Regions from separate parts of the Homo sapiens genome. Here all the other regions are linked to region 1. Evidence: promoter capture Hi-C in 16 types of primary human blood cells and fetal thymus (Javierre and others, 2016). All regions are on one chromosome and are shown on one strand. Each heading gives the region's core, a stretch centred on a gene start or on the middle of the fragment in contact. The rest is flanking DNA. Distances are from core to core; before and after follow the strand shown. Region 1 holds the start of MATN1-AS1 (MATN1 antisense RNA 1). Region 2 has its middle 28 kb from the start of LINC01226. Region 3 overlaps SERINC2 (serine incorporator 2). Region 4 overlaps PEF1 (penta-EF-hand domain containing 1). Region 5 overlaps ZCCHC17 (zinc finger CCHC-type containing 17).

Region 1 (5,373 bases), core at 2,450-4,949:
CACCCACACCCAGTTCCAGGATGGCTCCACCTCCACAGTGCCCCACCTGCAAATCCCATCAATGCCAGCCCTGGCCTCACTCACCCACACAGATCTTCTTCTGCAACTTCTTGCCTATCTGGTTGATGGTCTTGAAGTCAGCCGTGTAGAAGTAGTGCTCTGCCACAGGCTCTGAGGCTATTTCCCTCAGCTCATCCTCCACGGCATTGCCCACACCCACAGCAAACATCTTAAAGCCTGCCAGGAGGAACAGGAGAAGTAAGGCTGGACATGGGGATGGGCAACCATATGGCTGAGCCTCCTGGGGAAGGCTTAGGCAGCCAACACCAGACACCTCCTGCTGGCAGCTGCTGGAATTGCAAGCACAATGCCTGGAACAAGGACAATGAGAAAATCAATATTTACTGAGGTTCTGCTCTGTGTCAGACCCTATAGTGACTTCCTGTACTGGAAGCTTTGTACAGCAAGCTTCATTTAACCCTAATAATCATCCATCTGGTGGTTATTTTTTCCTCATTTAATAGGTTACAAAACAGACTCGGGCTTGTTCCAAAGTAGAGTTGCCTTCCAATAGTTGATGTGTTCTTGGGAATATCCAGCTGGAAAAGTTCCAAGCCTCACTTACAAAAGGACCATCAAAACAAGCCACTTACTTTTCTGGGGCCTCAATTTTGTCATTGGTATAAGAGAGAATTGGACTAACCAATCCTCCTCATTCAAACTCACCTGGGTTTAGGGCACTAATCAGACGACACCAAGATAAACTACAGTTGGGCTATACCCGTGTGTACCCCTGGCCATCAGTGGTGTCCAGGGTCCAGGCAGGCAACACCTACCGAGGTCTTTGGCCTTCTTGGCAGCATCATTAATGTAGTCCTGGCTCCGGCCATCAGTGAAGACAATGCCCACCTTCTGGGCCCCGGGCCTAGCCCCACTGGACACAGTGAAGGAATTGTCAATGAGGTACTTGAGAGCAGCCCCAGTCATTGTGCCCTTCTCCATGTAGGACATATTCCGCACAGCCGCCTTGATGTCCTTCTTGGTGTGGAAGCGACCCAGGGGGAACTCCTGGCGCACAGAGCTTGAGTACTGCACCAGCCCCACCTGGGCCAGCTTGTCTGACACGTCCAGCGTATCCACGATCTGACTGATGAACTTCTTCACCAGCTCAAAGTTCTCTGGCCTCACACTCTTGGATCCGTCAATGAGGAAGACCAGGTCAGTGGCCGAGCTGCCACCACCACCACTGCAGACTGTGGAGGACAGGAAGGCAACGGGCTGAAGCTGAAGGACATAGTCAACCATCCTGCTCCCCGGCTGGACACCCACCACACACCAAGCTCTGTGCTGAGGATCATTACATTGTGCCCTCAGAACTGCCTCTATAAAGCCAAGGTGACTGGTCCCACTGTACAGTATTGGAAACTGAAACTCCAATAGCTGTGAGATCACACAGCTCAGAAGTGGTAGCACCAGGATTTGATTTTGAGACTATGTGAGTCCTTCTACCACACTAAACCCACCGCCCATTGTGTTGAAAACAGGGACAGAAGTCAGGTGAGAACTTCTGCAGATACCAAACTCTAAAAGGCATCTGTCTGCTTTGAAGATTGGTTCAGAGGTATGGTGCAGGGAGGCTTGAATGGGTTTCCTGGGGAGGCCCCATCACCTCCCCTCCACACCCTCTCCAGGGCGAGCCTGTGTCCACCCCACTGACCATTGCAGGTCTTGCCGTCGCTGTTCAGAGTGAAGCCCTCGTGGCAGGCGCAGGTGTAGGAACCGGGGGAGCTGATGCACACCTGCTCACAGTCATGGTCCCCTGTGGCGCACAGGTCTGACACCACTGCGGGGACAATAAGTAGCTCAGATCTCACAGTCATAGTGCCTTGGGCACTACAGACAGGTTGTCCCTCCCTGACTGTGGATACCAGGCCCCATCCAGACTCAGGGAAACTAAGATCTCCAACATACTGGGGCCCAGGCCCCCGACTCTCAGCCCACGTCTGGAATCATTGCACCAGTGCCTAGATCCCTGAAGAAGGTTATAATGCTGATGATAAGAATGAAAAGTCTCACTAAAAAGGTAAAGGCCAAGGGTTAGGGCCTTTAGTCTGTTTAGTTCACTGCTGTATCAAGACACCCAAGTGTCTAGAACAGCATACAATGAACACAGCACCTATCTGTCAAATACCATATAATGAGGGTTACATTTTGCATTATCTCACTGGATCCTCTCAATAACGTGCATGCTCTTCTTAGACCCATTTTACAAATGGGTAAAGTCCCTGCCCTAACCCTGATCCTGTCCTACTGGACACCCTGCCCCTGCGGGTCACATCCCAAAGACCCACACACACACCTCCCCTCCGAGAAGGGCTCTGAACCTTCTCCTGCCAGTGCCCAGGCCTCTCAGACTCTCCCGCATCACAGAAAACTCTGGCACCCAAAACTCACGACACAGAAACATGTGTAGGTTTTCTGGGAGCTCTCCTTCCTGAGCTCTGGGCCCTCCTTGGTCCCTGCCAGGATTCTGCCACATAAAAGGGCTCTGTTGTTTTTTGTGTGTGCGGTTTTTTTTTTTGTTTTGTTTTTTTTTTGAGACGGAGTCGTCTCGCTCTGTCGCCCAGGCTGGAGTGCAGTGGCACGATCTCGGCTCACTGCAAGCTCCGCTTCCCGGGTTCACGCCGTTTTCCTGGCGCAGCCTCCCGAGTAGCTGGGACTACAGGCGCCCGCAACAACGCCCGGCTAATTTTTTGTATTTTTAGTAGAGACCGGTTTCACCATGTTGGCCAGGATGGTCTCGATCTCCTGACTTCGTGATCCGCCCGCCTCGGCCTCTCAAAGTGCTGGGATTACAGGCGTGAGCCACCGCGCCCGGCCATAAAAGGACTCTTAACATCGCCTCTCCCCAACTCCCTTAACCTGGGGCTGGAGACCCTCCTCCGTTATCAGGCTCCGCCCCAGCTACGGCCCCACCCCTGGTGCTGGCACCACCTCAGTCTAATCCAGGTTCCACCCCCAATCCACCTAAGCCGTGTCCCTAGCCCTGGCCCCGCCCTGATGTTGCCGTGTAACTCAGTTCCCGCCGTTTTATAGGCTACCGCCCCAGCCAGGCCCCGCCCTCTGATGTGGCCCCGCCCCCCGACGCTGACTTTTTCTGTCTTCACTTTAGCGCTGGCTCCGCCCCTAGCCTTGGCCCGCCTCAGCGCGGACTCTCAGTCTCTGCGCCTGCCACGGCCTCGTCCCGCTCAGCCCTGGCCCTGCCCCTGGAGCCGACTCTCTCCGCCTCCGCCCCGGTCCCGCCCTGGCACTGACTGTCTCCGTCTTCGCCCCTGCCCTGGCCCCGCCCCCTGCCTGCTCTGGCCCCGCCCCGCCGCTCTCTCCGTCTCCGCCCCTGCCCTGGCCCCACCCTTGCCCCGCCCCGGCGCTGACTCTCTCCGTCTCCGCCTCCGCCCCCGGCTCCTCCCCGGCCCCGCCCCGGCACTGACATTCTATCTCTCTCCCGTCTCCGCCTCTGCCCCCCCCCCGGCCCCGCCCCTGCCCTGCGCCGGCGCTGGCTCCGTCTGCGCCTCAGCCTCGGTCCCGCCTCCAGCCCTGGCCCCGCCCCGCCGCTCTCCCCTTCTCCGCCCCTGCCCTGGCTCCGCCCCCGCCTGCCCGCGCACCGCAGAAGGCCTCCTGGAACTTCCTGGACAGCTTCTCGATGACGCTGTAGCTCTCCACGTAATCGACGTGTTCGTCCTGCGGCTCGCTGGCGATCTGCCGCAGCGTGGCCTTGTCCACGCTGCCCACTCCGATGGCGAACAGCTCGACGCCGCTGGCCCGGGCCCGCGCAGACACGTCCTGCACGCTGTCCTGGGGCCTCCCGTCTGTCACCACGATGACCACCTGCGACACGCGGGGCGGTGTGACACCGGGCTCCCGGAAGCCCACGGGACTGTCCAGGAGAGGAGGCTGAGGCCCGGAGAGGCGGGAGGACTGCCGGGTCGCACAGCCAGGCGGCACCCGGGGGAAGAGGACCCGGCTGGCCGAAGAGGAGACCCGTTTCCTCTGACTGAGAGACGTGGCTGGGGGGCTTTCCATCTGCTTCGCCTCCCTCGGGCAGGCAGCTCTGAGATGCCCGGAGGGATGTGATGCCCCATCGCCAAATTGGGGTCTCTAAGGTCAGGGCCATGCCTTCCCCTCAGACTGAGGCGGCTGAGGGCAGGGTCCTCAGGCTGATGGCTGTGGGAGTCGTGCCACGCCCCTCGTGCCCCCGGGAGGCCCGGCCGGGGCTGGGTGGGGGGATCCGGTGGTTCCACATGGTGCAGTTCTGCGCTTTGGCCACCAGATGGCAGCCGAAGCTAAGGGATGGGGCTGCCGTCTCCCGTCTTGCTGTCCTTGTCCCGGTAAGACCGGGGACCCTGGACCAGGGAACCGACGGAGGGCCACTCCCATGTGGATGCCCAAGGGACCAACCCAAGAAAGATGCCGCCCTTATCCTCCTCCACTCCCCGGTATGATACATGCCCCTGCCAGAGAGGGAAAGAATCTGCCTGCTCCCCTCCCACTAGGCTCCTCTGGTCTGTACCCTGGAAAGAAAGAGGTGGCGGACTCTGTCACTGAGATCCGGCTTCGTGACCCCCTGTCTGCACCCGCCCTGAGGCTAGGGCGCTCCCAGCTCTGCCCAGTCTGGGTTAGGCATCCAGTCCCGCTTTGCTGCTTCTCTGCTTCTGACTTGGGTCTGTTTCTGATTCCTGGGTCCCATCCTTAGCCCCAGGTCCTGACACCCTGTCCTGATGACAGGCAGTTGAGACAGGCCGTGTTTAGAAATGCAGCTCCACAAGCTACAGGTCACCTTCCTGAGCCTCAGTGTCTTCAACTGTAAAAAGGGTTGTGGTGAGGTTGAGTGAGATGACTCCTGGTTAGAAGCCAGAAGGGGCAACTATTATTTTTACCATCATTACCCTGGGCTACCTGGGGAGTGACTTTGTACAATCTCTTCCTCTCCAGGGGCCTGGGCTCCTGGCTCTGAAAATCTAGCTGTGACTATTCGCTGCCATCCCGAGGCCCACTGCCTCCTCGAGTCCCTACTCCCCTCCCTGCAACCCAGCTTTCAGATTGTCCACCTTGCTGGGTCCTCCCACAGGTGAACTCCAGGCTGAACACCTGGAGTCTGGTGCCAGCTCCCCCAGCGCCGCTGTGTCACCTGCTGGAGGAGCTCTCTCCTCACTTGCCCACCCCACGCCACCACCCCCATCTCCTTCACCCTCTCCACCACCTCAACCATCAGCTTCATCTACAGCACCCCGTGCTGAAACTTGTAGTTGGCCCCAAGACCGACAGGCTGCCTGATACGTCATTTCTCTAAGGGGTGGTAATGGCTGGGATTATATG
Region 2 (4,944 bases), core at 972-3,471, 830 kb after region 1:
TTCCCTTGCACCCTCTATGGCCACATGTGAAACACCTTTGACAGGCTCTTCTTGAAGGAAGTACAGCTGCCCAAGCTGAACATAGGCGGTTGTCTGGTCTTCCCCTCCATGGGCACCTACATGTCCTCATTTCATTCAGTTAGTGGCCCCTGCGTTGTTCTAGAAAAGGGTTTGGATGAACTATAGGTGCCTTCTCTAGTGGTGAGAGCTCTGGCTTTTGGAACAAATCCAGGCTCTGCCACATACTAGCAGTGTGGTCAGAGCCTCAGTTTCCCCCCCATGAAGTGAGGATGATATGAGTATCCCCCTTGCAGGGTTGTTGAGAGGGTTAATGCAGATAATGCAAATCCTTGCTGAACATCAGTCCGTGTCCAGGGCCCTGCCTCTGGCAGGCCCTGATCCTGGCCTGACCCTCAGAGGCCGCCCCTGCCTCATGGTCTGGCTGTCCTCAGAGAGCACACACAGCATCTGACCATAGCCAATGGGCCAGGTGCAGGGTGTGCCTCAGAACTCACCTTGGCCTTGAGAAGCCCCCAGGTTGGAAGGTGTGATGAATGAGGTGTGGATCCAGCCAATTCTAAAATAGAGCAGATGCTACAGCATGTCTCCCAGGCACTTTAAAACTTCAAAACTACTATTTGGGGAGTTCTGAGCTCAGAAAGAGAATGTGCCCTACAAGGATGGACATTGTCAGAGATGGGGGTAGGTGCACATTAGGATGACCAGCCACATCCCTGCAGTGCAGGGAGGGCAGTGGGCCCTAGAGGCTAAGACCACCTCCATCCTGTCCCCTTTATAAACTTCACCTGCTGAGGGAGTTATCTGAATGACAGCCTCTGCAAACAATCCTCCCCATCTGCCAGAGTCAGCCCCACCAATTTTGCTGCTACCTCCTCAGCTCAGCCAAGGCCAGAAGGAATCATTCAGCACCCTTGGGCTGAAGAGAATTCTCCCTCAGACATCTTAGGAGCAGGGGTGAACTGCAGATGCTACCCATAGAAGCCAGAGGGGCCTTCAGGCTTCAATGTGTTACTCATCTGGTACCCTCCCAAAGCCTGCAAATTAGAAGTAAAAACATCCACCCTTACCCCTCAGAAGTGTTTGGAAGTACAGATATGAGTGAACTTTAGGGAAAACATAACATTTTATTCAGATGCAAGAGATTCTGGTGTGTTTTGTTTGCCCTATGGGTACTGTCTTATGAGATTGTGGATATCCATCCATCCATCCATCCATCCATGCATGCATCCACCCATCCATCCATGCATCCATTAATCCATCCATCTATGCATCCATTTATCCATCCATCCATTCATCTATGCATGCATGCATGCATCCATCCATCCATCCATCCATGCATCCATCCATCCATTGATCCATACATCAATCCATGCATCCATTTATCCATTCATGCATCCATCCATCCACCCATGCATCCATCCACCCATCCATCCATCCACGCATGCATCCATTTATCCATCCATGCATCCATCCATCCACCCATGCATCCATCCACCCATCCATGCACACATCCATTTATCCATCCATGCATCCATCCATCCACCCATGCATCCATCCACCCATCCATCCATCCATGCATCCATGCATCCATGCATCCATCCATCCATCCATCCATCCATCCGTCCATCCATCCATGTATCCATTTATCCATTCATACATACATCCATTCATCCATCCGTGGATCCATGCATCATCCATTCGTCTTTGCATGAATGCATGCATGCATCCATCCATCCATCCATTCATCTGTTCATCCATCCATCCATCCATGCATCCACCCATCTATCCATTCATTTATCCATCCATGCATCCACTTATTCATCCATGCATCCATGCTTCCATTTATCCATCCATGCATCCCTCCATCCATCCATTCATCCATGCATCCATCCATGCATACATACATCCATGCATCCATCAATCCATCCATGCATGCATCCATCCATCCATCTATCCGTCCATCCATGCATCCATTCATTCATCCATGTATCCATGCATCCATCCATCCATCCATCCATCCATCTATGCACGCATGCATCCATCCATCCATTCATCCTTCCATCCATCCACGTATCCATGCATCCATCCATTCATCTATGCATGCATGCATCCATCCATCCATCCATCTATGCATGCATGCATGCATCCATCCATCCATCCATACATGCATGCATTCATCCATCCATCCGTGAATGCATCCATCCATCCATGTATCCATTTATCCATCTGTGCAACCATCCATCCATCCATGTATCCATTTATCCATCTGTGCAACCATCCATCCATCCATTTGTTCATCCATCCATGCATCCATCCATCCATCCATCCATCCATCCATGTATCCATTTATCCAACCATGCATCTATCCATCCATCCATGCATTCATCCATCCATCCCTCCATGCATCCACCCATCCATCCATGAATCCATCCATCATCCATCCATCCATCCATCCATCCGTCCATCCATGCATGCATCTATTCATCCATCCATCCATCTACTCAATAAAAGTGTGAGGTCCTAGTCTTCCTGGCACTGCTCCAGACACAGGTAACACATGGTGAACAAGATGGGTGAGAACCCACACGTGTGCAATTTACCTTCCAGTTGGGAGAAGACGGCATAAAAAAACATATAAAGAAACGATGAAGTGGAAGCATTGGTGCTGTGAAGAGAAATTAAACAGGATGAAGGGATAGTGAATGGTAGAGGGCGGGGCTACTTTAGGTAGAGGGGTCAGGGAGGCTTCTCTGAGGAGAAGAGACTTGAAGGGAAGAGGGAGGGGCTGTGCGGTTGGCTGGGTCGCAGCTACAGGCATTGAAACAGCAAGTTCCAAGGCTGGAATGGAGACTGTACCAAAAAAAGGGGGGGCGTCAAGGAGTCCTGAGTGGGTGAGCAGAGTGAGTCAGAGGGAAGTGTAAGGAGATGAGGCAGGAGAAGGGTCCCCACTGCTCCTGTCAAGCCTTGTTGTGTCGGGACTTGAACTTTATTCTAAGCAGGTGAATGCGGTGCATGCAAGAGAGACAGAGAGAATGTGGCAGGACCAAGGAGGAGGCTATGCCACTTATGTCACTCCTGGCAAAAATAAGGGGGCATGGAGTAGGCTGTTTGTGGTGCAGATGGTGAGAGCAGTCAGGTCCAGCACAGATTTTAAAGGTTGGACCCAGAGAATTTGCTGCAGAATCAGATGTGGGGTGTAAGGCAGAGAGGAGTCAAGGGCAACTTCAGGATTTGGGGCCGGAACTGCCATTAGACAGACAGGGACACTGAGGGAGAAGCAGGTTAGGTGGGATTAAAATCAAGAGTTCAAGTTAAGTTTGAGCAGCCTGTTAGACCTCCAGCGAGGGCCAGATAGAAGAATCTGGTTTCCAGGGAGAGGTCAGGATGAGAGATACACACGTGGGAATGATTGGCATTGGGTGGACTTTATATTCTCTGGGTCAGTGAGACAGCTGGGAAGTGACCACGGATAGAGAAGAGACAAAGTCACAGAAACCAAGAGAGGTAATGTTGCAAGGACGGAACACTCAACTCTCAAATGCTGCTGAGACGTGGGCTGAGGGCTGAGAATGGAATTGGGAAGAACCGAGGTCACTGGTGATCCTGAGGGTTTCAGTGGCAAGGGCAGGTGGACTGCAGTGGGGCCCGGTGGGGATGGGTGGAGCATGGGCCCCTCTCCCGGAGAGTTGCACTGTAAACGAGGGCAGACATATGGGAGTGCAGCTAGAGGGAGGGAACGTAGGGTCAAGGGAGAGTTTATTCTGAATGAGAGAGATCACAGCTTGTTTTTAGGCTGACGGGCATGATCCATAGAGGGGAAAGTAATTAAGATGCAGAAGAGAGGCCGGGGGTGGTGGCTCACGCCTGTAATCTCAGCACTTTGGGAGGCTGAGGTGGGTGGATCATTTGAGGACAGGAGTTCGAGACCATCCTGGCCAGCATGGTGAAAACTCGCCTCTACTAAAAATAAAAATAAAAAAAAATTAGCTGGGTGTGGTGGAGGGCACCTGTAGTACCAGCTACTTGGGAGGCTGAGGTAACAGAATCGCTTGAACCCTGGAGGCAGGGGTTGCAGTGAGCTGAGATTGTGCCACTGCACTCTAGCCTGGGCAACAAATTGAGACTCCATCTCAAAAAAAAAAAAATGCAGAAGAGAAAGGTGAGACTTGCCAGGGCAAAACCCAGGGTGGTGAAAGGGCTTGGCACCCTGTGCATGAGGGAGGATGTGCCCTCAGTGTGTACCTCTGTGGTACCTGGGTGGTGCTGGTTGGTGGAAGATTTGGCATCCTGAGAATGCGGCATTTTCGTCTGATTCTCTTTTCTCAGTGAGATAAGAACCAAGGTCACAGCCAATAGCCAGGGGGCAGGAGGGGGTCTTGGTGAGGACTCGAGGAGAAGAGGGATGGGGGTGGGAGAGTTAATGGGCCGGTGAAGCCTGGTTGGGTTGCCGGAAGCACAGGGGCCCATTCCAGGTTTGTGGGGTCACCTTGGAGTGAGGCCAGTCATCTGATGTACCTTGTCCTCAGCCACATGCAGCTGCGTGGGTGCAGCAGCAGAATGGGTGGAGGGCTTTGGGGAAGAGCCAACGTGGGCGGGGGGCGTGGCTTGGAGTATGAGGTGGCCGTGGGCTCCCTGCAGGCCCAGGCTCCATTTACGGCCAGCTGCCTGCTGTCCTCGCCCTGCTCCGGCATGCTGTCTTTCCACATCCGTTACCCACTGCGCGCTCATAATGCTCCCACTTTACAGAGGCCATTTACTCTGGCCACCTAGTAGTTGGTGGCAGAGTTGGGATTTGAATCCAAATGGAGGTTCATTGTTCTCCATTCAGGGTAGCAGGGGCACGCGTGCTGTGTTTAAGAGAGACTTGCATGCCTCGTGGTGGAAATAAACTTTGGTGGATTAAACTTTAGGTATTTTGCGCCC
Region 3 (5,371 bases), core at 2,524-5,023, 700 kb after region 1:
AAGGAAGTGCTGAAGCCAGTGAGACCCAGGGCTGCCTAACTATAGAGCCTGGGCTCGGAGCCCCTGTACTCTCCTACCCCAGGAGATCATTTTACAGATGAGGAAACTGAGTCCCATGGAGGGGAGGAGAGACTTGCCTGAGGTCAGATTACAAGCTGTGGCAGAGCCAGCATTAGGACCTGCATTCTTGGCACTGCATGGGGGAAGTAAGTGCACCTTGGGACATTTCCGGCTGACCTCTTCTCTGCTGTGTTTTGACTAGCCCTGGGGCGGCTCAGCCAGTTACGGAGTTGTTCATGAAGGCGGCAAGGTGCATGCTTGCCTGGGCCAGTTTTGCATTTTTTAAACTGTGACGAAATACATGTTAAAAAATTTACTCTTTTAACCTTTTATTTTAGTCTTCAAGGAGTTTGTATGTTATTTCATTTTATTTTATTTTACTTTATTTTTTTGAGATGAAGTCTTGCTCTGTTGTCCAGACTGGAGTGCAGTGGCACCATTCTGGCTCACTGCAACCTCTGCCTCCAGGTTCAAGTGATTCTCCTGCCTCAGCCTCCCGAGTAGCTGGGATTACAGGCGTGCGCCACCATGCCTGGCTAATTTTTGTGTTTTTAATAGAGACGGGGTTTCACCATGTTGGCCAGGCTGGTCTCGAACTCCTGATCTCAAGTTATCCACTGGCCTCGGCCTCCCAAAGTGCTGGGATTACAGGCATGAGCCACCACACCCAGCCTGTAATTTATTTTAGAAGACATGTATATTAAAATGGAGATCTAATAAATACAACCCTAATAAAAATTAATCCCAAACGAATGGCATTGTCAGAAGGAGTAGTGCCAACTAAGGCACACGGTAACTCCAGAACATCTTCTTACTGTCAGCCCTCATCTGGATTACTGACAACAGCCCCTGACTCTCCTCCCTTCCCCCAAAGATACCACACACTACCCCATGACCTGTCTTTTTGTGATCAAAGTGATATTTCTAAAATGCAAATCTGCTGTCATTCCTCTTCTTTCGCAATCATTCCCCATTGCTTTCAGGGTGAAGTCCAGACTCCCTGGCATGGCATACAGGGACATTGACCACCACTTCCGTGACCTCTGTAGCTTTTCTCACCCTTTCAGCTGCCCTGAAAATACAGTGTCCCTGTAGCTCTGCATGTGTCATTCTCTTTGCTGGGAATACCCTTCTCGCCTCTTCCTGCTCTTCTTTGAAAACTCCCTGCCCCCTCCCTTTTAAAAAAATTGAGGTAAAAGATGCATAACATAAAATGTACCATTTTAACAATTTTTAAGTGTAGCATTAAGTACATTGACACTGTTATGCAACCATCACCACCATCCTTCTCCAGAACTTTTTCATCTTCCCAGACTGAAACTCCCACTAAACAGTAACTCCCCAGCCCCTCGTAACCACCAATTCACTGCTTTTCTCTATGAGTTTGGCTACTCTCTCCATCTAAGTGGAGTCATACAATATTTGTTCTTTGGTGTCTGGCTTATTTCACTTAGCATAATGCCCTGAGGGTTCATCCATGTTATAGCATGTGTCAAAATTTCATTCTTTTTTTTTTTTTTTTTTTTTTGAGACAGAGTCCTGCTCTGTTGCCCAGGCTGGAGTGCAATGGCACAATCTCGGCTCATTGCAACTTCCACCTCCCGGGTTCAAGCAATTCTCTTGCCTCAGCCTCCCGCGTAGCTGGGACTATAGGCACACACCACCATGCCCAGCTAATTTTTTTGTATTTTTAGTAGAGATAGGGTTTCACCATGTTGGCCAGGCTGGTCTCGAACCCCTGACCTCAGGTGATCCGCCCGCCTTGGCCTCCCAAAGTGCAGGGGTTACAGGCATGAGCCTCCGCACCTGGCCTCATTCCTTTTTAAGAACAAATAATATTCTATTGTATGGATATGGATATACCACATTTTGTTTATCCATTCATCTCGTCCACCAATGGACATTTAGCTTGTTTTCACCTTATGACTACTGTGAATAATTCTGCTATGAACATGGGTGTGTAAATATGTGAGTCCCTGCTTCATTTCTTTTGGATATATATCCAGAAGTGGAGGGCCACTTTATTTTATTTTATTTTATTAAATTTTGAGACGAACTCATGCTCTGTCACCCAGGCTGGAGTGTATTGGCGCGATTCAGCTCACTGCAACTTCTGCCTCCCGGGTTCAAGCGAGTCTGCTGCCTCAACCTCCTGAGTAGCTGGAATTACAAATGCCTGCCACCATGCCTGGCTAATTTTTGTATTTTTTGTAGAGACGGGGTTTCACCATGTTGGCAGGATGGTCTCAAACTCCTGATCTCAGGTAATCTGCCTGTGTTGGCTTCTCAAAGTGCTGGGATTACAGGCATGAACCACCACGCCCAGACAGCCAGTTTGTTTTAAATAGAAAAATTCATCCAGCCCTCAGCTGCCTCCCTTACCCACCCAACACCCTATGAGTGGTTCTAAGAACTTCTGTCCCTGGCTCTGAGGACAACCAGGAGACAATGTGAATGACTCAGTGACAGCCTGTTCACATAATGCCAAACGACTCATGGCTCCAGAGCTGTCTGCCTTGCCTTGGGAGGTAGTGAGCTCCTTGTCATTGGCAGTGTGCAAGCAGCAGAGGATGGCCAGATGCTTTCTGGGTGGTTCTTCATTGGAAAGAGAATGGATTGGTTGAATGCCAAGGAACCTTGCAGCTGTAAGGCTCTGAGGCCTGGGGCTTCTTAAATTCTGAGTTCTCCATTCTGAGAACCTGGGCTGGTACTAAGATTCAGCCACTGTAAGTGTTCTGGGGCTTTTCTGTTGCTGCCCTTGAGTGCATCTGCAGGAAGAGGGGAGTGGTTGTAATCGTAGTGTGGGAACAGCTTTCCAGTCTGCCTTCCTTTCACACTGCATCATGAGCATTATTCCATGTGGCTCTGTAGCCAGGGAATTCATCTTTCTGGCTCTGTAGCATTCCATGGAGTGAAAGGGCCACGGCTGTCCCCAGGTGTTAGACATTTAGGTTTTTTGTAGTTTCTTGAGACTCCAATAGGCTCACAAAACCTAAAGCTTATTTAAGTTTTTTCTTTATATAAAAATCTTTATTTTTATATTTGTAAATTTAACTTAATTGAAGTATTATTTGTATACAATGAAATGTACCCAAGTTAAGTGTTACCTACATATTTGCCCCATTCAGCAGAGAAATCCGTTTTATGGAATACCATGATGTATTGATGGGCGTTTTGTTATTTTCAATTTTCCCCTAATGGCCAGGCATGGTGGCTCATGCCTATAATCCCAGCACTTTGGGAGGCCAAGGTGGGAGGATCCCTTGAGCCCAGGAGTTCAAGACCAGCCTGGCCAACATGAGAAAACCCTGTATCTACCAAAAAATACAAAAATTAGCTGGGTGTGGTGGTGCATGCCTGTGGTCCCAGCTACTTGGGAGGCTGAGGTAGGAGGATCGCTTGAGCCCAGGAGGTTGAGGCTTCAGTGAGCTGAGATCACACCACTGCACTCCAGCCTGGGTGACAGAGCCAAATCCTTTCTTGAAACAAAAACCAAGAAACCAAAAAGAAAAATTAGCTGGGCATTGTGGCTGGTGCCTGTGGTCCCAGCTACTCCGGAGGCTGAGGTAGGAGGATTGCTTGAGCCCCGGAGGTGGAGGTTGCAGTGAGCCGAGATGGTACCACTGCACTCTAGCTTGGGTGACAGAACGAGATCCTGTCTCAAAAATTTTTCCCCCTATTATTTTCCTATTATGATCAGTGCCACAATGAATTTCCATGTGTTTGTATATATGTGCACACATCTGCCCTTACTCCAATGGTCTGGCATTTCTGTAGGAAGAGATTTAAATATATATAAAATGACATTTTGGTCAAATGGAAGAGGTTCTTGTAGGAGCCATTCTGGGGTGGGGTGAATGGAGCAAGGTGGACAAACATTTCCAAGGATGCTCTGGAAGCAGTGTGTGTTTTTCTCTTTGACCTGGTCTCTCTGGCTGCTGATCAGGCCCTTGGAAATCCTGAGATTTCAGGCATTAGGAACACCTGGATTTTGATGTTTAAGAACCAGAGCGAACTGAAAGGCCAAGCTCTCTGAAAGCGGAACAGCTTTCTTGTGTCTCAGATGTCTCAAATTGAAATTAAATGGTAACAAGCCAGCATCAGGACCTGACAGGGCACCTGGGCACCTGGCTCCTGAGATCAGTACCCACTGGCCTCCCTTGGTTTTCTGGTATTGGGTTTTTTGTTGTTTGTTTGTTTGTTTTTTCATCACTGGGATGTATTTAAATTAAATAAGATGACCATCAGTGAATTAGCGAGCTGGAACTAGTGTAGTCCTGTAGGCAGAGCCTGGCCCTTGGTGCACACAGATCTGAATTTGCATCCCAGCTCCTCAGCTTACTTGCTGTGTGACCTTGGTCATGCCACTTCTCTGTCTCAGTTTTCCCATTTGAAAATGGAAAGTTACCACACAATTCATAGCATCAGTGAAGCTTAATGTAGATAAAGTGCTTATCACAGTGCCTGGGACTGAGTAACCCTTCGTAAATGGTAGCTGCCACTAATACTACTTGAATCTCAGTGCTGTTATCAACTTGCTGTGTGACCTCTGGTAAGTCTCTTAGTCCCTCTGGTCTCAATTTCCACGTCTGTAAAATGGGACTAATAAGCTGCTCTAACTGATACCCAGAATGTTCTTTATAGCAGGGGTCCCCAACCCCTGGGCCATGGACTAGTATCTATCCATGGCCTGTTAAGAACTGGGCCACACAGCAGGACGTGAACAGCAGGTGAACAAGCATTACCGCCTGAGCTCCGCCTCCTGTCAGATCAGTGGCAGCATTAGATTCTCATAGGAGTGCGAACCCTATTGTGAACTGTGCATGCGAGGGATCCAAGTTGCGTGCTTCTTATGAGAATCTAATTCCTGATGATCAGAGGTGGAACAGTTTCATCCCAAAACCATATCTGCCCCCTGCCAGCACCCCTGCTGCCATCTGTGGAAAAAGTGTCTTCCCTGAAATTGGCTCCTGGTACCAGAAAGGTTTGGGACCACTGCTTTATGGCCTCTAAAACATTTTTCAGGCTTTTCTTATCCTCTCACCCACCAAGGACAGCCATGGATAGGAGGCAGGTCTTGGGGTGGCAGCTGCAAGATGTAACCAGAAGTTGCTGGACAGGTGGACTGTTTCAATTTAGACCATGAGGAATAGTTTCGTTTCCAAAGCATTTTGTTTAGCATCTGTGTGAACGAGAGATAGGCGAGGAGCATTTCTAGTTTGGGGGAGAGTAAGAGGGGAGGCAGATGCCCGCCAGCAGGGTGTGCTGTGTGCCTTGTGACCAGTCCAGAAAGAAAAGCAGAGGTCTCTGA
Region 4 (5,493 bases), core at 809-3,308, 920 kb after region 1:
TAAAGCAAATGATCAGTAAGTCATAGCTGCTATTGCTATATTAATTACTGTTATCAGCAAAGTCCTGGGCCAGGTGAACTGTGCGGGGTGGGGTATAAAGGAGAGTGAAGCAATCTGAAGGCACTCACAGTTAACAAGACTTAACATGTAGACACTGTGTAACGTCTAACAAAACAGCATAAGGAAAACAGGTGTTTGAAATGGAGACATAAGTCATGTGCCATAGGACTGCAAAGGAAGGAGGGTAAAATCAGGGAGTGTTTCCATGAGAGTGGCATTTGAGCTAGGACTTAGAGAACGAACAGGATTCCCAAGGGGTTGGAGAGGTGTGACAAGAGAAATACCCAGAAGACAAGTCACTTAACCTAACCCCCATTTTACAGATGGGGGAGGGAGGGAGGGACTTGCCCAAGTAATGCTGTGAGCTGGAGGAAGAGACAAGGCTGGACCACTCCCTTGCACCCAATGACTCCCCCTGCCTCCTGCTACAACACTCCTTCATTAAGCAATAGGGCTCAGGATTCCAGCATAGGATGGAAAGGGAGTGGGAACTCTGCAGAATCTGGGCACACCCAAAGAACAGGCCAGACACGAAGCCAGAAGTAGCTGCCCCACTATAAGCCCTGTGAGCAAAGCTATAAACCGCACCTGGCACCTAGGAAAACCCACCTAGGAAACCACCTATAAACCACCTAGGAAACATCCCCAGGCCAACAAAGCAGGTGCTGCCAGGCAGGTCTCCTGCCCTTCTGGCTATTGTAGTCTGGCAGCAATTAAACCCTTTCCTTTCTGTCCTGCATTTGAAGACCTCCTCTGTAGTTTACAAAGTACTTTCACAAACACAAACACTACAGGCAGAATCTTGCCAATGGCCTCCTAACAGAAAAAAGGAAGATGTTAGTTGCCCTCTTTTACAGATGAAGAAACTAAGCCACGGAGCTGTTAAAGGACTTCATTCAGCACGCATTTTCAGAGTGACAATATTGTACTAGGCTCTGTAGTAGATCTGAGGACACAAGTAAATGAAGTCCTGCCCTTAAGGGGCCCACAGATAATTGTGATACAATCTGATCAGTGCCATCAGAAAAATCTACTTATGTGCTATCAAGGAAGCTTAGATGGAGGAATTTGTGCTGTTTGCAGAATGAATAAATGAACAATGTATGAAGTGGGTCAAGGAAAGCTTCCTGGAGGAAGTGGCAGTGATATTGGAAATGGTCCTTGAAGGATGCATAGACATTTTCCAAAAGGCAGGCAGGGAAGGACACTCCAGACAGAAGAGAGAAGAAAGACAAACGCACAGACTTAAGAGTGAGCATAGTGCATTCAGGGAATGAGTTAAACCGCAGAGCCAAGAATGCAGTGTGAACCCAGAAAGGCAGGCCCTCTATACACTCGTTGACCAAGCACCTCTCCCCCTGCATTTCAGTTAGCCGTGAGGTATCAGTGTCTAAGAGTAGTTTCTGTCTAGCATCTCCCCCACCCAACAGTAAGCTCCCCAGGGGCAGACACTGCGCCTCACTCATCATGGCACCCCAGGGCCCAGCACAGTGCCTGGCACCTGCAAGCCTCCACAAATATTTGGACAAATGAACACCACTCTAAAGAGTTTTGTTGGGGCTTTATGCCGGAGAAAACAGAGCACTATAGAAGGGTTTCCAATAGGAGAGGAACGTGATGAGAACCTTGTTTAGAGAAGTAACCAGCGGCGGTGTGGAGGATGAGCCAGTGAGGGAGGCAGTAGCCCAGGTGCTGGGCAGGCAGGGCATGAACCAGACAGCACACTTGGGGATGAAGAGAACGGAATGGATTCTGAAGCTATTTCAGAGATAGACCAGACATGACTTGGTGACTAATTAGATTAGGAAAGAGATGGAGGAGGAGTGAGGAAAGTGTTCAGAATGACTCGGGTTTCTAGCTTTTGCACAAGATGAAGGAGGTGGAGCCAACTGAGACAGAATGCAGGCTGCACAGGAAGTTTGGGGAAGAAGATGAGGTGGTCCCCACCTCACAGAGGGTCACCCAGTGTCACTGAGTTGTTAGCAAAGGTCTGAACCAGAAATGAAAAACAGCATCCCTGACTCCACGTTCTTTTACACTACTCCATGCTCCCAGCCCTTTTTAGAGTTTTTCCAAGAGTTATTTCATACTGATAAACAGGATTGTGAAGGCAGGTGGAGGGGAAGGACAGGAAGAGTTCAGTAACTGCAGCTTCTGAAGCAACACAGAAAAACTATCTCTAGGGCTCTGGCTGATTGCAAATAAGCTACATCTGATGCCCTGGGGGGACTGGGGGCAACAAACATTTACTGAGGCTCTGCTAGGTGCTTCCAGTTCAACCAGCTCTCACTAATCCTCAGTCCTGTGAGGTAAACAGTGTCATCTCCATTTTGCAGATGAGAAAATTAAGGGGCAGAGAGTTTAATAACATGCCTGAGATCATGCAGCTAGAATGGGCAAGTTGGGATTCAAGTCAGGGTCTGCATGACTCTACACTACCCCCTTCTGTTTGTTCACTCAATAAATGAGTGAGTGCCTAGCATGTGTCTGTGTGAGGGACTGTGCTAAATGTCTTTGTCAAATATAATGAATTTCTACTGTGGACAGAGGTAGAGGGGAAGGCTGGATTGGGTGATCTCTCAGAGCCTTCAAGCCCAGAAATCAGGGACTCTTAGAAAAATCTCATTCTTTTTCGTCCCAGCACCTAGAGTCACTTTGAGAGCCAAGCCACATTTTGGAAGACACCCCAAAGACTCTTCAGTTCAACCTCTCAGTTAATAATGGAATCTCTGCAGAACCACCTGGAATCTCTACCTGCACTTGCGCAAGCAGTAGGGAGCTTACCTCCTCCCAAATAACCACCTCAGAAAGTCCGGTATTTTTTTTTTCTTTCCAGTTCTGAGGACTCAAGTCTTCTAACCTCAAGACCCCTGTGAAGCTTAAAGGTATCAACGGCTGTTCCAAGCTGAGCCCTGATGACGAATGGAGGAGGGAGCATTGCAAAGACAAGTTTGTACCCCAGAGCTACCCTTCAAGTGCACAGGAGGAGGTGGGAAGCCCAAACTAAGGGGTTAAACAATCACAGGAAGACAAGAGGAACAGTTCAAGCATTCACCAGCAGAGCCACTTGAAATAGGAGAGAAGCACGCAACCAATAAACAATGAGCCAAGAACCATCCCCAGACTTCAATTACCTCTGTGCTCACACTTTCAAATCTTTCCAGCTTCATCACTCCTGAGCTACAGACCCACATATCCAGCAGCCTACTGGACCTTCCCTCCAAACCCATGCCTCCCTGTGTTCTCATCTCAGTGAATGGAGCTCCGTTCTGCTTAATCATCCAAACCTAAGGCCAAGTTTTCTCAAATCTACCTCCCAAGTGCTTCTCAAATCTCCTCTACCAGGTCACAGTTCTCTTTAGCCTAGATTACCTCAATAGCGTCAAAACCGGTATCCCTGCCTCCTGTCTCTCCTGCTTCAATCCATTCTCACAGCACCCCACAGTAAGCACTCCAAAGCACAAATGGGACAAAACACTTCACTGGCTCCCTCACTACTCTTAGGATGAAGTCACACTCCCCAAAAAGGCATACAAGGCCCTTTGGGATCTGGCCCTTGCTTACCTTTCTAGTCTTATTTCCTACCCCTTTCCCCCACATCACTACAACTACACTGAACTTCTTAAAGTTCCTCCAAAATACTAGGCTGTCTTACCTGCTTCATGGGCTTTGTGCAGCTATTTCCTCTGCTGGAATAGCATTCCTTTCTTCACTCAGCTAATTTCTACCAGTGATTCAGTTGTTGGCTTAAATATCACCTCTTTTAAAAATGCACCCCTAGACTGAGTTAGGTATCTCACTCTCCCGTGCTGTACCTTACACTTACTCCCATTGAATACTTATCACATTGCCTCTTCAATCTGCATAACTGCATTACTCCTCCACTTGGAGTATTCTACATGCCCAACACCATACCTAGCACTTTACGTGGATTTTCTCATTTAATCTTTAGAGTAATTCTGAGGTAGATACTATTATGACCCCATTCTAAAGAAGGGAAAACTAGTCCAGGCGTGGTGGCTCACGCCTGTAATCCCAACACTGTGGGAGGCTGAGGCAGGTGGATCACCTGAGGTTAGGAGTTTGAGACCAGCCTGGCCAACATGGCGAAACCCCGTCTCTACTAAAAATACAAAAAATTAGCCAGGTGTGGTGGCGTGCGCCTGTAATTCCAGCTACTTGGGAGGCTGAGGCAGGAGAACTGCTTGAACCCGGGAGACGGAGGTTGCAGTGAGCCAAGATTGTGCCATTGCACTCCAGCCTGGGCGACAGAGCAAGACTCTGTCTTAAAAATAAACAAATAAATAAAAAATTTTTTTCAAAAAAGGGAAAACTGAGTCTCAGACTTTTGCAACAAACTTCTGCAAGGGAGTGACAAAGCAGGGATTTGAAATCAACTCTCTCTGGCCTCAAAAACTAAGCTCTTAAGCACTGAAATCCACCAAGCTCGTTCCCCCATAGGACCAAAGGGTGCTTGAATTTTACTACTCCAATACCCAGTCCCTGCTTGGGTACCCTGGACTGGAAGCAGTGGAAAATTACAGGAATTCTGACTCCTAACAATAGGCTGGAATCCTCCAAAGCTATGTAGTGGGTGGAGGGGAGGCAGCACTGACTGAGATGCTTTAAAACAACTCGTTTCCTTTCTTAGAACACCTGAGACCAGGAGGCGGACAAGGGTATGGTAGGAAAAAAAAACAACATTTCTTTTTCTATTCCAGACTCTTCTCTCTGTGCTCCTTTTCAGTATTTCACTCCAGGAATAGCCCAGGCAGCATGGCATCATGAGAGCAGTCACGGCAGCAAGAGCTGCCACCAGACACTGGCATGTACTAGGCACTAGCAACACGCCAGGCTCCCTGCATTTTAACCTCATTTTAGCCCTTTTCACAGGTATTATTTCTCCCTTTATACAGGTGAGGAAGCTGAGGCTCAGAGCCCTTAGTTTGTCCAGGGGTATATAACTATTAAGTAATACAGCTAGAATTCTAGCACAGTTCTCTCTAACCTGTCACTGCTTTTAGGATGCACACCAATTGTCCCTAATGCTTATTAGCATGTAGATTCCTGGGTACAGAACAGGTCTGAAGTGGGACCCAAAAGTGTGCTTTCTTAAACAAGCTCTCAGCTGATTCTGAGGCAGAAGACCAGCCACTGGGAAACAAGGCGCTATGAATGTTTTTTCAGCCTGTGTTCCTCAGAAATACTAGAGTCAAAAAAGTGACCAGACATCTGAAAAGAAAGCCGGGAGGCGGAGTTTCTATGGTTAGATATGTTTAAGAAATACTGCATATTATATTCCTTTCTGGATGATTTACAATGTACATTAGCAAATTAAGGATTCTGAAATAGCTTGTGGTCAATAAACTTATTCAGCTATACTTAAGAGTATTTCCAAAACTTTAGTTAACTACAGAATCCTCCTATATTAAC
Region 5 (5,622 bases), core at 2,968-5,467, 580 kb after region 1:
GAGGATCCAGTTTTGAGAAATTTGAGAATATTGTAGAAGATTTGAAAGTCACTGTGGAGTGTGGGAGAATGAGGTTACTAGAGAAATGTAGGATGCAAGGAAAAAAAAAATTTTTTTCCAGCATATCCAGCGGTTTAGTGCATGCATGGAGAAAACCTTTCTGGGTATGGCAAGGACATCGCTTGCTCAAGACACATTCTAACCTCTAATATGTCTTCTCTTCCTGAAAAATCTGGAAAACTAAAAACCATTTTCTTGACTCCCTTGCACCTAAGGTGAAAATTGAATTTGGAACTGAGTTAAATGTGGAAAGAAGGAGGGTGTGAGTCATCCAGTTTTGCTGCCAGTCATGGCAGTAAATTTCTCCAGTCAATAGCTCCCTGGTTTGGTGGCTTGCTGCAGTGATAGCCATAACTTTCCTGGATTGTGGCAAAGGTGGTATTATTTTGTGGGTTAGGTGTTGTTCCTGGAAGTTCTGCCAAAGTCTTTTATTGCAATACATCCCTTACTGCTTAAGTGGGTTCTGTTGTCTGCAACTGTCCCTGACCAGGTTAGAGGTACTGCCAGAGAGTTAAATATAAAGACAGAGTTAAAGGGAGTTTAGGGTGTTGTTGGAATGATGGGCTATGGAATCTAAGCTGGATTGGAAGAAAACTGAAGAAAAAGGGGAGGGCTGATAGATTGGAAGAAAATAGAGGCCAATAAATCAGGGTTCTAATGAGGTCAAAGAACAGTATTCTCTGCTAGAGGATTTCTGTTTATCCTAAAAGGCTTATTCAGTTATCTGTTTAACTTCTCTACTTCCCCCAGACCCTCTTTCTCTTCCTAGCTACTACTTTTGTTTGTTTGTTTTGAGACAGTCTTACTCTGTTGCCCAGGCCGATTGCAGTGGCATGATTATGGCTCACTGTAGCCTCGACCTCCCAGGCTCCAGTGATCCTCCCACCTCAGCCTCTCCAGTAGGTGGGATAACAGGTATGTGCCACCATGCCTGGCTAATTGTTGTATTTTTTATAGAGATAAGGTCTTGCCATGTTGTCCAGGCTGGTCTCAAACTCCTGGCCTCAAGTGATCTTGCTGCCTTGGTCTCCCAAAGTGCTACGATTATAGGCATAAGCCACCATGCCTGGCCCCCAAGCTTCTGCTTTAGCACTTATCACATTGCAGTGTAATTGGTGTTATTTTGTGGGTTAGGTGTTGTTCCTGGAAGTTCCGCCAAAGTCTGTTATTGCAATACATCCCTTTCTGCTTAAGTGGGTTCTGTTGTCTGCAACTGTCCCGGGCTAGGTTAGACATACTGCCAGATAGTTAAATATAAAGACAGAGTTAAAGGGAGTTTAGAGTGTTGTTGGAATGATGATATCTGATATCCCTATCAGATTAGGAGGTCTTTGAGAACAGGGACTGTGTTGAAAAGGGTGGTTTAGGCCGGGTGCTGTGGCTCACTCCTATAATCCCAGCACTTTGGGAGGCCGAGGCAGGTGGATCACCTGAGGTCAGGAGTTCGAGACCATCCTGACCAATATGGTGAAACCCTGTCTCTACTAAAAATATAAAAATCAGCTGGGCATGGTGGTGTGTGCCTGTAATCCCAGCTACTCGGGAGGCTGAGGCAGGAGAATCGCTTGAACCTGGGAGGAGGTTGCAGTGAGCTAAGATCGCGCCATTGCACTCTAGCCTGGGTGACAAGAACAAAACTCTGTCTCAAAAAAAAAAAAAGAAAAAAAAGGGTGGTTTAGTGGCAAGTGTGTGTGGCCCTTGGAATGGCCTAAGATTTGTCTCTTTCTTGCTGTGTTGTTTTGGACAAGTTATTTCATTCCTGTAAAATAGGATTACTTGCTTTGTAGAGGAGTTTTAGGGATTGAAAGCAGGTTTATAAAGTACCTTATATATAAACATCAATCAATAGCATACTGAATTGATGAATTAACAATTTAAATGGGGTAAAATTAAATACTTCACTATTTTAGTAGACAATTTCCATGTGTGTTACACTGTGCTAGGCACTGGAGATTTGGGGAGGAAGGATATGATGATGTGCAAGACAAAGGCATGCTTACAAGAGTTCCACACTCTACAAAGGGAGGAAAAAAATGTCCCTAAAAATGATTTGAATCCCATCCCCATCATTCATATTTTGCAATCTTGAGCGAGTTTACTTAGCTTCTCTTGTGTCCTCATTTTTAAAATGGCAATGATAATTGCCTGTTTTATGGGATAGTCAAGAAGAGAATTATTGAATGTCATGAAGATAAAATTTTAAAAAGAAAAATTAGTTAAGAGAAGTAAAGCTCTTAGATTAATACATGGCAGATATGAAGCACTCAAATATTAGCTATTATAAGACTTTGAAGGGATCTTAGGAATAATTGACTGAAAGTGTAGTGTCGAGTGGTAGAATAAGTGCTGATCCTGGGGTCTTATACCAATGTTGCTAACTGTGAGCAGCCTTTGTCAAATCACTTGGCTTCATTTTCAGTGGCCTAAGAGTAATAGGTTTAATTATTTCCATAATTCCTTTAAGTTTTTACATTTTCTGAGTTCATCTTTTGTGTTTTTCCTGGCATTTTACTATTCCTCTTTCCTGCTTTTGGCTATTTTCTCAACAGGTCCACGACTGGAATTTGAAAGCAAGAAGCATCTATCTTACATGGTCACTCTAGAATTTGGTGGGAGGGAGGAAAGTTGGACCACCAGTTTGACATTTGAAAGTGTCCCGGCCGGGTGCGGTGGTTCACACCTGTAATCCTAACACTTTGGGAGGCCGAGGCGAGCAGATCACTTGAGGTCAGGAGTTTGAGACCAACCTGGCCAACATGGTGAAACCATGTCTCTACTAAAAGTACACAAATTAGCTGGGCATGGTGTTGCATGCCTGTAGTCCCAGCTACTTGGGAGGCAGAGGTGACAGAATCACTTGAACCCGGGAAGTGGAGGTTGCAGTGAGTCGAGATCGCACCACTGCCCTCCAGCCTGGGCAACAGAGCGAGACTCCATCTTAAAAAAAAAGAAAAAAGAAGTGTTCCATCTGTTGATCTGTCCAACATATTAAATGGGACCTAGCTCCTTCTTCTTCTATATCCTTTAGACCAGAATGTGTTCCCCCCTCTTTCTCTACCTGTGCTTGGCATATAGTGAGGCTCAGTTCACTCATTTAAAAAAAACTGAGTACTTGTAGTATACCAGACCCCAGGAACACAAAATCAAATGAGAAATGGTCCTTGGTTTCATGTTTGAATGAATGGATCCAGACGTTGCTCATCCTAGCTCTTCCATGAATGATATCCACATTGATTCCTCTAATGTTGGGACCTAGTTAGTGTTAGAGCTATATTCTACAAAATTTAGATTTAGACCGTGTATTAGCCCATTTTCACACTGCTCTAAAGAACTCCCTGAGACTGGGTAATTATAAAGGAGAAAGGTTTAATTGACTCACAGTTCTGAATTGCTGGGGAGTCCTCAGGAAACTTATAACTCATGGCAGAAGGTGAAGGGGAAGCAAGGCACGTCTTAAGTGGTGTCAGAGGAGAGAGAGAGAGAGCAAGAGAAACTGCCACATTTAAACCATCAGATCTCGTGAAAACTCTGTCACTATCATGAGAACAGACTGTGGGAAACTGCCATGATCCAGTCACCTCCCACTAGGTCCCTCCCCCAACATGTGGGGATTACAGTTCAAGATGAAATTTGGGTGAGGACACAAAGCCAAACCATATTCGATTGTGAATTCTTTTTGAGGTATAGTGCTTAAGAATGCAGGCTCTTGGCCGGGTGCCATGGCTCATGCCTGTAATCTCAGCACTTTGGGAGGCTGAGGTAGGAGGATTGCTTGAGCCAGGAGTTCAAGACCAGACTGGGCAACATAATGAAATCCAGTCTCTACCCCCCCTCAAAAAAAAAAAAAATTAGCCAAGCTCGTTGGTGTGTTTCTGTCCCAGCTACTTGGGAGGCTGAGGCGGGAGGATAGCTTGAGCCCAGGAGGTCAAGGCTGCAGGGAGCCATGTTTGGACCATTGCACTCCGGCCTGGACAACAGAGTGAGACCCTGCCTCAAAACAAAAAACAAAGCAAACAGTGCAGGCTCTGGAGTCATTATTCTGTCTCTGTTCATATCCTAGTAGTTTTAGTTAGCTTACTTTGCTCACAATTCCAGCACAGCTTAAAGATAAACTAAAATTCCTTTAAATTCTTAGGGTTCTAGTCAATTAGTACTCAAGTAACAAAAAAATCTAAATCCAAACAAGCTGGAAAATGATAACAACAAAAATCTTGACCAGGTCAGTAAGGTGACACATTAAATGAAGTTCCAAAAAGGCTATAAAATGTCTGGCCAATTTAATATTGTTCTTTAAACTTTTCATTGCTTGGGGGATAGGAGGACAGGATGTGTAGGGTTTTTTTCCCAGTTGCATGTGTACTTTAAAATTTTTTTTTGAAACTATCACATAATTATGGAAGCATGTACAGATAACATTTTTCTGAATTATTTGAGTTAAATTGCTGACCCAATACCCCAACAGCCCTGAAAACTTTTTTTCCTACAAACAAGGACATTCTCCTCTATAGCCACAGTGTAATTACCAACATTATGAAATTAACATTGCATTACTTCTTTGATCCTCAGGCCCCACCTCTTGATGCTCGAGCTCTGACTACCCATTCTGGGCTGCTCCAGTGTGTGCCTTCATCACCTTATTCTTCCCTATATTGCAGTTCTCTTTGTAGATTTCCTCCTCACCCAGCTTAGACTCTGACCTCACTCTGGGCCACCATTTCTTCTCCTGTATCCTTTACTTCCATCCCATACTTTCCTTTCTCTGTCCCTTGTTTTGGAAAGAGAGTGGCTAGTAATTGGTCCCCTGTTGCTTCCCTATGTAACACAGTTGTTTAAAACATGCAAGCAAAATGCTTTGTTCTGCATTCAGAGCTATTGCAAGGCAACTCCAAATGGTGTACCTCAATCCTTGTCGACTTACTGGCTCTTTTAAGTGTATGAATGTGGTCCTGTCTGACTGACTGTATCTATCTTAATGTTATATACTCTTTTTTTTTTTTCTTTCTGAGACAGAGTCTCTGTTGCCCAGGGTGGAGTTGCCCAGGGTGGAGTGCAGTGGCATGATCTCGGCTCGCTGCAACCTCCACCTCCCATGTTCAAGTGGTTCTCCTGTCTCAGTCTCCCGAGTAGCTGGGATTACAGGTGCCCACCACAATGCCCAGCTAATTTTTGTATTTTTAGTAGAGATGGGGTTTCATCGTGTTGCCCAGGCTATTCTCGAACTCCTGGGCTCTAGTGATCCACCCGCCATGGCCTCCCAAAGTGCTGGTATTAACAGGTGTGAGCCACCGTGCCTGGCTCAATGTTATATACTCTTATTTTTTTTTTTTAGACGGACTCTCGCTCTGTCGCCCAGGCTGGAGTACAATGGTACGATCTTGGTTCACTGCAAGCTCCACCTCCCAGGTTCATGCCATTCTCCTGCCTCAGCCTGCCGAGTAGCTGGGATTACAGGTGCCCGCTGCCACGCCTGGCTAATTATTTGTATTTTTAGTAGAGATGGAGTTTCACTGTGTTAGCCAGGATGGTCTTGATCTCCTGACCTCGTGATCCACCTGCCTCAGC

Evidence for each region. The method cuts DNA at HindIII sites, captures the fragments that hold promoters and counts their contacts. A CHiCAGO score of 5 or more calls a contact.
Region 2: a fragment that was not itself captured here is called in contact with the fragment with the promoter of MATN1-AS1 in region 1 in 1 of 17 cell types (total B cells); the score reaches 5.8 in total B cells.
Region 3: a fragment that was not itself captured here is called in contact with the fragment with the promoter of MATN1-AS1 in region 1 in 5 of 17 cell types (non-activated CD4 T cells, naive CD4 T cells, naive B cells and 2 more); the score reaches 6.3 in non-activated CD4 T cells.
Region 4: a fragment that was not itself captured here is called in contact with the fragment with the promoter of MATN1-AS1 in region 1 in 2 of 17 cell types (neutrophils and non-activated CD4 T cells); the score reaches 6.9 in neutrophils.
Region 5: a fragment that was not itself captured here is called in contact with the fragment with the promoter of MATN1-AS1 in region 1 in 1 of 17 cell types (total CD8 T cells); the score reaches 5.9 in total CD8 T cells.

What each region holds. Positions count from the first base shown.
Region 1 is chr1:30,715,073-30,720,445 of GRCh38, forward strand. MATN1-AS1 (MATN1 antisense RNA 1) reads left to right here and starts at 3,700. Exons shown (of 4, transcript NR_034182.1): 1 at 3,700-4,493. It overlaps MATN1 (matrilin 1), which reads right to left. Exons shown (of 8, transcript NM_002379.3): 3 at 3,663-3,885; 4 at 1,718-1,843; 5 at 837-1,253; 6 at 85-237. RefSeq lists silencers at 2,923-3,102, 3,143-3,662, 4,223-4,312 and enhancers at 3,723-3,892, 3,990-4,565. The HindIII fragment of the contact is 4,958 bases long and covers 467-5,373 here.
Region 2 is chr1:31,544,066-31,549,009 of GRCh38, forward strand. No RefSeq gene overlaps it. Among named protein-coding and RNA genes, the nearest start is that of LINC01226, 28 kb to the left of the region's middle. RefSeq lists a silencer at 4,913-4,944. The HindIII fragment of the contact is 5,837 bases long and covers 1-4,944 here.
Region 3 is chr1:31,416,287-31,421,657 of GRCh38, forward strand. The region is part of intron 1 of SERINC2 (serine incorporator 2); the gene reads left to right. Among named protein-coding and RNA genes, the nearest start is that of SERINC2, 5.8 kb to the left of the region's middle. The HindIII fragment of the contact is 1,435 bases long and covers 3,057-4,491 here.
Region 4 is chr1:31,637,885-31,643,377 of GRCh38, forward strand. All of the region lies in intron 1 of PEF1 (penta-EF-hand domain containing 1), which reads right to left. Among named protein-coding and RNA genes, the nearest start is that of PEF1-AS1, 3.5 kb to the right of the region's middle. The HindIII fragment of the contact is 1,755 bases long and covers 1,182-2,936 here.
Region 5 is chr1:31,299,228-31,304,849 of GRCh38, forward strand. All of the region lies in intron 1 of ZCCHC17 (zinc finger CCHC-type containing 17), which reads left to right. Among named protein-coding and RNA genes, the nearest start is that of ZCCHC17, 5.0 kb to the left of the region's middle. The HindIII fragment of the contact is 6,162 bases long and covers 1,137-5,622 here.